Regions from separate parts of the Homo sapiens genome. Here all the other regions are linked to region 2. The links are contacts of gene promoters, found by promoter capture Hi-C in human tissues and cell types (Jung and others, 2019). All regions are on one chromosome and are shown on one strand. Each heading gives the region's core, a stretch centred on a gene start or on the middle of the fragment in contact. The rest is flanking DNA. Distances are from core to core; before and after follow the strand shown.

The links. Contacts are between HindIII fragments. The study calls those that stand out against the background at their distance.
Region 1: the fragment with the promoter of HOMER1 here is called in contact with the fragment with the promoter of AP3B1 in region 2 in 1 of the 25 tissues and cell types used here (aorta).
Region 3: a contact is called between a fragment that was not itself captured here and the fragment with the promoter of AP3B1 in region 2, in 1 of the 25 tissues and cell types used here (hippocampus).

Annotation. Positions count from the first base shown.
Region 1 is chr5:79,512,447-79,515,471 of GRCh38, forward strand. It overlaps HOMER1 (homer scaffold protein 1), which reads right to left and starts at 1,688. Exons shown (of 9, transcript NM_004272.5): 1 at 324-1,688. The coding sequence starts at 328. RefSeq lists a silencer at 1,261-1,970 and enhancers at 1,965-2,512, 2,221-2,410. The HindIII fragment of the contact is 12,079 bases long and covers 1-3,025 here.
Region 2 is chr5:78,293,224-78,296,099 of GRCh38, forward strand. It overlaps AP3B1 (adaptor related protein complex 3 subunit beta 1), which reads right to left and starts at 1,475. Exons shown (of 27, transcript NM_003664.5): 1 at 1,229-1,475. The coding sequence starts at 1,356. RefSeq lists enhancers at 1,738-2,311, 2,686-2,735. The HindIII fragment of the contact is 13,991 bases long and covers 1-2,876 here.
Region 3 is chr5:77,131,711-77,134,862 of GRCh38, forward strand. All of the region lies in intron 2 of ZBED3-AS1 (ZBED3 antisense RNA 1), which reads left to right. It also overlaps a transcript of PDE8B not described here. Among named protein-coding and RNA genes, the nearest start is that of ZBED3, 46 kb to the left of the region's middle. The HindIII fragment of the contact is 4,061 bases long and covers 1-3,152 here.

The DNA.
Region 1 (3,025 bases), core at 438-2,937, 1.2 Mb after region 2:
AAGCTAAAATAATGTGATTTTGATTACAAACTGATGCAGCAGTCTGACCAGTAAAGTGTAGAATGCGTTGTCTTTGTAAACATTACTCACAAATCCATATTCAAGTTACAAACGATATATGTGTTTTTAAATTATGACCTCTGGTACCGCTCTACAAAAATGCAAAAATAACCTAAAAGGTTAGCATGCCTATTTCTTTAAAGTATGACCAGCTTAGCAAGGTGGCAAGTTTGTTTGAAAACACAAAACACAATCACCACCACCGCTCAATAATACACATACATAAACAGATTCGAAGCTGTGTTAAGCACAAAAATCCTTACCCCATTTTGCCCAATGAAAACTTGCTCTGAAGTTTCAGCTCTTATGCTACGGAATAACTTCCAAAGGAATTTCTCCGTCTGCTATTTCGCAGTTGCTTTTCCACCCCCACCCCCAGATCCTTGTCCGGAGGTATTTCAAGGATGCTGCCAATTCAATTAGTTCTCTTAGGTAAAATGATTTCTCTCTTGTAAATACCAAAACGTTCAAACAGAGGCGGCATTTGCTTATTCGAGTTAAAATGCTTTGCGGAGGAGACAGCGATCAACTCTATTCCACAAAATGAGTCTACAAGTAGGGAAATGCAGAATCCGGCTTCACCGAGTCCTATAAAAAATGAGTTCGCTGGTCATTTCACTCATGTCCTCCTCGACACTCAGGGAGAGCCAGGTAACTCGGCCTTTTCGGAGCTAAGGCTGCGGGTTCAAATTTCTCCACCACACCAGGTCTCCGGGGGTGGAGCGAGCAACCAAACGCGACGTGCACGTGAATAAAAATCCCAAAAGCAGTAATGCCACGGCTTCCCTGCGCTCACATTAGGAAAAAAACTACACAGGAAAATCTCCTCGAAGTGCAAACCCGGCAGCTCGCAACCTGCACGGCACTCCACATTGGAATCTGTCTTTTTAAATGTTTCTCCTCCTAAGACTCGGAGCAGAGAAGAGGTGGGGAGGACGAAGAGAAGGCTAGGCAGGATCGATTCATTCTCCCGAAGAGAATAAACGGAGCCATTTCCAGGCTGGCAGCAGGCTGGGGGCGCAGCGCACGCCGGAGAGCTGGAGGAGGGGACCCGATCCCACCTCCCTCAGCCCCTTCCCGCCCCCCGCCGCCGAGCACAATGGAGCCCGGCTGGTGCCCGGCCCTTCATTCGCGGCTGCCCCCTCTTCCCTCCTCTCTTCAGAGCACAGCGGGTCTGAGGCTCCCGTCGGCGGAGAATGAATGAATCACAGAGCCAAGCCCCACGCTTCCACTGGCACCCTGCCCCCAGCTCCAGGGCGGGCGAAAGGGGCCGAAGGGTCGACGGGCGCCTGCCCGAGCCAAGGCGGGAGGCTAAGCCCGCGTTGGGGCCAGGAGAGCTGGGCTCGAAGCCGAAGCGCAGCCGCCGCTCCAGCGCCCCCACCCCTACTCCTCGTCTCTCACGCTCCGCGCCGCCGCCACGCGCCGCCTCACATTCCCCGGGCCCCGCCGCCGCCTCTTCACACTTCCATCAGCGCCCGCCTCCGGCTACCGCCGGGCAGAGCAGCGCCAGCCCCGGCGGCCTGAAGCCTGCCGCTGCCTCCGCCTCCGCCGGCCGGCCGGCTGGCAGAGAAGAGGGTGCTGCTTTCCCGGTCAGCGCCGCCGGCGTGAAGCTAGCGCGGCGGCAGAGTGGGCTGCGGGGGGCGGGAAGGGGGCGGAGAGAACGGGGAGCGAGGGCGGTCCCTCCCTCTGCTCGCGGGAAGGGACGGGAGGCGGTGGCCGCCGCGGAGCCGCGGCCGGGGGCTGGGGCGCGGACTGGTCCCGGGAGCCCGACGGGCCTTGCGAGCAGCGGGCCGCGGGAGAAAGCAGCAGCCGCAAGGCGGCGGAGAGGCTGATGGTGGGGGGCCGAGCGGCCCTCGTGGGGAGCTGGGCCGGCGGCAGGCCCTCAGTCCGTTCGTCCTTCTTTTCCCCCCTCCCCTAGAGGCTGGCGGCTGGCTGGCCGTGCGCTCTGCTCCTCCTCTGGCTCTTGGCCCCGCTCCCGACCGCCACAGCCTCCTCCGCGCCCCACACCAGGTGCTCGCGCTGTGTCTCCATCCTCCCCGCAGGAGGACCTTTAAATAGCAACGTCAGCGCGCTTCTCTCCGCACACACGTCACCCGCAGCTCACGTCACCGAGGTGCGGGGGATGATGTCACGCGGCCGGAAGTACTGCTAAATTAGGGAAGGAGCAGGGGGAGGAGGACTCGGCGAGCTCCTGTGTGCCCACCTGCTCTCACTTCTCCTTAAAGGCCAAAGCACAGGAGACAGCCCGAGAGGAGCTCGAACAAGGAAGCGGCGGGAGGAGGAGATTTCCTTGCAACAAATGTGCCAAACCTGAGTGAATCATTCGTAGCAAAAGTGCAGTGTCAAGCGGGTAATAGCCTATCTCCCACTCCCACCGCTATTGCAGCAGCACCCCCGGGCTTCTCTTGTCCTGACTAGCAGGGAAATGTGGGAGGGAGAGCCTGATCACACTGCTGGTAGATGTGCTTCCAACAGGACTTCGGAAAAATCACCTAAATTTTCAATTATAGAGTGCCATTCTGGACATAGTCGACTTTTAAACTTTTTGTTAGTGGTTACCTGAAACACGAAAGAATAAAGAGCAGAGCAATAAGCAAACGAAATAATGTTATAAAGGATAGTAATTTTATTTGCAAAATAGCAGTTTTGACATAGGAAAATGAGTCAATCTTAGTTCACGTATAGCAAATGCCAGTGTGTCCTCTCAGTTTCTCTTCATCAAGAATATGAGTTCCATGACACTTGGCTCCAGCCAGTAAAACAAGAAAGAGAAAAAGTATATGGGTTTCAGTCTGTGGAATTTAAATTAAAATTTAAAAATTAAAAATAAGAAAGAGCACCAAATCCTTTTTCATTAACACAAGCATATTTTCGTCTTCTTTAGTTTTGACCACATAATATGTAATTACAATATCTCTTAAGTGTGTTTTGCATTTTCTGTATGGCAAGGGTGAGTAGCTGTCTA
Region 2 (2,876 bases), core at 225-2,724:
AACCATAAAAGTAAATTAATTTGCGAAACAGATTGATGCCGATATACAGGTTAATTCAGTCTAAACATTTTGCTAATAGTAGAGGCAACAAGCTCCGTACTTGTTCTAGAACAATGGATCATCAAATGCATATAATGAAAAATGAAATCAGTTACCTTACTTTTAAACTTTTCTAACCTTGGGAAAAAGGAAAAGATTGTATCTTACATGCTATATATATGATTTTGATCCTCAATACAGCCAAAATGTAATCCCAATTTGAAGTAGTAGCACTTTCTAGACTACCCAATATTGTTAGTAACGTTTAATTTAAATTTTAATTATACCCTCTAACAGATCTGCAAAGCTACTAGCACAGCTATTCTACCTTAATTTAGCATGAATTTAGTGACAGACTATTATGTGACCCTATTGCTTAGTAATGAAAGATTTAAAATAAGAGAAATGTAAAAATGATAATTCTGGTAAATGTAACCACTACCACCAACCCACCCCCCAAAACAAACAACTTGGGATTTCTTTCCATTTCTCGGTGATACTTTTTACAAAACTAAGTGTACCTTGTTTAACATTCGTTTTTAAAATTCACATTATTAATCTGTAAAAGTTTTGGATTTGTTCACAGTAACACTCTTTTAAAATATTTTCTATTCATATGCTTATTTTGGATTGGTGTTTTTGTCTGTAGTGCAAAGGACATAATCCAAGAACATTAATACTGGTGTAAACCAGTTTGTCCATTCAAACAGCCTAAATCCACCTCTCTGCTCCTACACTCCGGGGTCACAAAATAACTTCCCACAAGCAACACTCGCACTCTCACCTTCACCAAAACACTCCTTTCACCCTAATCAGGGAATGTATTAAAGTCTGATCCGGCGAACGGTAAATAAACTAGAAGACGATGCTCAAAATTCAGACTCCTGAGCCCAGCCCAAGTCCAATTCAATCAGTGTCTTCAGGGGTGGGATCTAAGCTCACCAAGTGGTTTCCTTTTCACTAAAGTTTGAAAACTACTAGAGACCCCTACACACATTCGCCCCAAACTCCCACAACTCCCACCACCGCCAACCAACCCCACCTACCCACCCGCGGGACACGTTACCGCCCTGCCCTGCTCAGACCTCAGGGCGACCCCGCTCCTCTCCAGGAAGCCCACCCTGGCGCCCACTCCTCCGAGTCCGCAGCTCCTCCCTCCCATCCCCGCAACCCAAACCTTTCTCCTCACTTCTTCAAATCGCTGCTAAAGAGGCCGAAGGCCCCCGAGGGGGAAATGGTTGAGGTCGCCTCCTGACCCAGCTCCGTCGCCTCCCCTCCTCCGGACTGCTCATTGTAAGGAAAACTATTGCTGGACATTGCCGCGGTGCTGGCGGGTGCGGGGTTGGTCCTGCCGGGGGTTCTCTCCAAAAGGTTCCAGTCCAGAGGGCACGGAACAAAACTAGTTCTCGTACGGAGGAGCGCGCGCAGGCGCTTCCGGACTCGTCACGGCTCCCTGAGCCGACCTGGCAGTCCACCCCCTGCGCATGCGCAGTGTGCAGGCCTGCTAGATTACCACCCGGGCCATCCAGGCCTGCGCGGACTTTCCTGCTCCGGGCTTTAGAGGTAGCTGAGCGGCTGCGAGCCGGACTGCGGAAGGGGAGGCAGCGGGTGGCTAACTGCCCGGCTCCCGGCCCGTTTGAGGTGTGTCTTTGGAGAAGGATACCCATTGCATCCGTTTTGATCCGTTAAGGAGTTTCCAGAGCCCGGACAGCTCTTTGCTATACTTCAGTAAAGCAATAGTTTTCAGATTTCTCCGGAAATGCCATTTAGCACGCCAGATCACCTTTCCTAAACCCATCACGATCGCTTTTCCTTTTCTTGCTTGTTTCGGCTACTCTCTTCCATCCGGCTTTGCCTTACTTTCATATCGGTCCCAAACAACTTTTCTCCTAGACTTTAAGGAGGCCTCTCCCAACGATGGTTTGGAGGATCCGCACAGAAGCGACCATTCCATCTTTTCAATGAAAGTCTTGGGGGCAGACCGGGCGCGGTGGCTCACGCCAGTAATTCCAGCACTTTGGGAGGCCGAGGCGGGTGGATCACTTGAGGCCAGGAGTTCGAGACCAGCCTAGGCAACATAGCGAGACCCTTTCTCTGCAAAAAATATAAAAATTAGCCGGCGTGGTGGCGCGTGTCTGTGGTCCCAGCTACTGAGGCTGAGGTGGGAGGATCACTCGAACCCAGAAGGAGGGGGTAGCGATGAGTTGAGATCTCTCCACTGCATTCCAGCCTGGGCGACAGAGCGAGACCCTGTCTCAAAAAAATGAAAAAGAAAAGAAAACATCTTGGGGCCACCAGTTCCCGTTTGGAGCTGAAGTGGTGCGTCCTATTGGCGTCTAGCTACCAAAAATAAAATGGACCACCTCGCGCGCCAGTCGTGTTACTCACTAATATGCACTAGGGAGCCTAGGCGGGATGCTTGCCTGGCCCCAGAGTAGCTCTCTCCGGGTGCTGGCACCCGAGAAAACCTCTTTCCCGGGGTGCCTTCCCCCAGCCCGCCTTCTCAGGTGGGTTTCAGCGCCTTCCCTCTCTTCTCCCCAGTGCCTCCCGTCCAAGGAAGGCATTAACACCCAAAGCCCTGGCGGCCAGGTACTGAAACTGTCAAGGGATTCTACCAGGTAGAACGCGAACCTGGAGGCCGGCCGCCCCAGGGAAGGCGGTGGGGCGTTTTCAAGGATGAGAGTATGATCTCCAAATTTCAAAAGGTCACACTGTCACTGTGGAAGCACGCAAGAGCGTGGCTCTGGGTGGGAGAGGAAGGGACGTCCTCCAAACTTGATCGTCTGGTCAAATATTGGCAGGTTTTTAATTCAGCTGTTAGAATACTCCTCCGGAGA
Region 3 (3,152 bases), core at 597-3,096, 1.2 Mb before region 2:
AAACAATTCTCTTGTTCACATAAGGGGAAATATGATGCATTAGGAGTTGAAGTGATCTTAACAAAAGGCTTTTTTTGGGTATAATTTACAAAATTATACAACCATGTAAACTTATTGATAGGGCCCCTTTCCAGAGTTAGAAAGGGGTCCATTCAACAAACAGTCCTGCAACTTAGAATTCATTAACAGCAAGGTAAATTTGCTTCTGTATCAAACTCACAGAGTTGTAAGAATTGAATCACAAGATTAAATATATGCAAATGTGTTTTGTAATCATCAAACACGGTGCATAATTATTTTGATGCCTACAACTAAGCAAAAATATTTGTACCTAGAACAAAGCAAAAATATTTATTCAATAAATGATAAAATAGATGAAATTTGCTCTCACCAAAGTAGTATACAAGCTAATTGTATTACATTTCCCTAGGCCTGAAAAAATTTATCAGAGTAATATATGTACATATTTTTACACAACAGTCCAATATTGATAAAAGATTTGCAACCAAATAGAACAAGCCCATGTCCCACCCCTCATATTTTCTAATTCCACTTTCCAGACTCAATACATTTCCTCCATATTGCTAACTAATATGTGCTATATTGTTTTTCCTGATTTATCAACCTTGAATATTGTCTGGTGACTCTCTATTATGGCATTATTCACTTTCTTCTTCCCATTCTCTCAATATAGTTATAGGACAGTTCTTCTTATAATATGAAATATTGTTTATGGCTGAACAAAATAGTGGGCTATGATTTTACGTCCTTCTACATACCTCTAAATAATTGTGTTATTTTTCATTTGCTTAGTTTTCCATTTTACCTATACTTGGGTTTTCCCACTGTCTACAATAGCATTTTATGTATCTTTCCACTCAGTCAAATTCCCCACGCTGCAGAGAGCCATGGAGCCCTCCATCCCTCTGCTCCAGACTAGTCTTGCTGTCTTCTGTGCAACAATATGGAACTTCATGTGCTATCATGCTGGAAATTTCCATCATCTCTCTCCTAAACTGGATTTCCTATGTTTTCTATCTTCCTCTGTTTTGGTTGCGTCTTTTTGGTGGTTCTTATTCTCTAGTAGCTTCTAAGGAAAGGTCTATGGGAGGTACATTAACTGAGACTCTACATGTGCATATCTCAAAATATCTTTATTCTAGCCTTATAATTAACTGATAGTTTAGACGGATATGGAATTCTAGGTTTAAAACAATTTCACTCAGAATTTGGAAGGCATTTCATTGTCTTCTAGCTTCTGATATTGCTCTAGAGAAGTTCTGCCATTCTCATTCACAATCCTTTGTATCTGATGACTTTTCCTCTTTGGAGATGACCTATGATTCCACAATAACATGTGGTAGGTTAGATTATTATTCAAAATATTCACTTTTCTCCCTCACCCTGACTTACTTTGGCTAGTGGGATATTAGCAAGTATGTTGCAAGTAGGGGCTTGAAAAACACTTGTGTGGTTGGGCTTGTTTTCTTAGGCTTATGCCATCAGAAGCACAGAACAAACAGGCTGATGACTAGCCCACTGGTTCTAGAAGGAGGATGAGTAACACATGGAGCAAAGCCAAACCCTCCTGGCCAAGCTCAGCCTGAATCAGCAGAGCTGCACAGTGGAGCCCAGCTTGGATCTGCCAACACTCAGCTGATTCATAGATCAATGACAATAAACGACTGTTATTTTAAGCCACTGAATTTTTGGATGTTTGTCATATAACATTTTGTGGCAATAGCTTTTGGTATCAGAAATTAGTATCTAATTGGTATTAGAAATTGATATTTGTAGTGAGGTATAGGCACAAGAAAACAAAAAAATAAGTGGCATTGGTTTGGAGGCTGGATGATGGGCACAAGAAAACTGTTATAGGAGGCTGGAAAGAAAATGGTAATCTGTGTTTTGCAGGGATGAGACATTTTCTAAAACTGTCACCTTTGGTAACTTGGAAGTTAGCATATGTACCTAAAAATATTTGGATTTGTGCTGAGAAGTCTTCATGCACAATGATAAAAGTGTGAGCTAGTTGTATTTAGCTGCATATAATAGGTACTAGAGATGAGTTCAGAAAAGAACCAGCCAGGTTTCAAGGAACATGTAGGTGGAATGCAGGGAGCCCAAGAATTCTGGGACTTGCTGAGTTGGAAAATAAACTTTTGCATCTCCAATATAGTTGGCAAGTCAGCTATATTGGGCCTTCTGTCCTGGAAGGTTCCACAGTTCATCCTCACAGGGTTAGATACCTCTCCTGGCTTTAGATTTGCCTTTCCTTGCCACAGAGCTTCAGCAAGCCCCACTACCTGGGGCCGATCTGTAGTCATGGAAGCACACACAGCATAATATTGACCAGAGGATCACTTCATCGCAAAGGAGGCTTGGGAATAGGACAATGACCATGGGATCCACTGGTCATATCAGATACTGTATCACCTAGATGGAGCCAGCCTCATAAAGCATTGGAATGGTTACTAAAGGCACAGCTGGAGCTCCAGCTGGAGGCAATGCTCTGAAAGAACAGGGTACCATCCTGCAGGATGCACTGTATACATTAAACTGGGGTTCTCCATGTGGTGCTATGTCCTCAACAGGAAGAATACATGGGTCTGAGAACCAAGAAGTGGAAGCAGGAGTGGACCCACTTATCATTTCCAATGACCTCCTGGGGAACTTTGTGCTTCTTGTCTCTACAACTCTGGGCTCTATGAGATTAGAGGTTTTGGTCCTCAAATGAGGTGCAGCTTGGCAGGAGACACAGCAAGTGTCCCATTGAACTATATACTATGGCTGCCACCAGGGCATTTTGGACTCTTTCTATGAAGAGACCAGCAGGTGAAAAGAAGAAATCATTGACTTCCATCAGCAGAAAGAGGTGAGGCTGCCTGTACACAATGGGACAGGGAGGAAGGAATGTGTATGGATCCCAGGTGATCCCTGTGGTCAAGTTTTTCTGTAGTCTTGCCCAATCTGTGATGTGACTGCCAACAGCTAAGACCTTCTGGAATAAAGATAATGAAGATAATAAAGAGGGGGAGGGGAATTTAGATTGGATAGTGCAGGTAGGAGAAGATGACTATGGGTTGCGATCTCAAGACAACTGGCGGCACTAGGGGCTATAGTTCCTCCCATTAACTTCTCTCTTCTAAGTA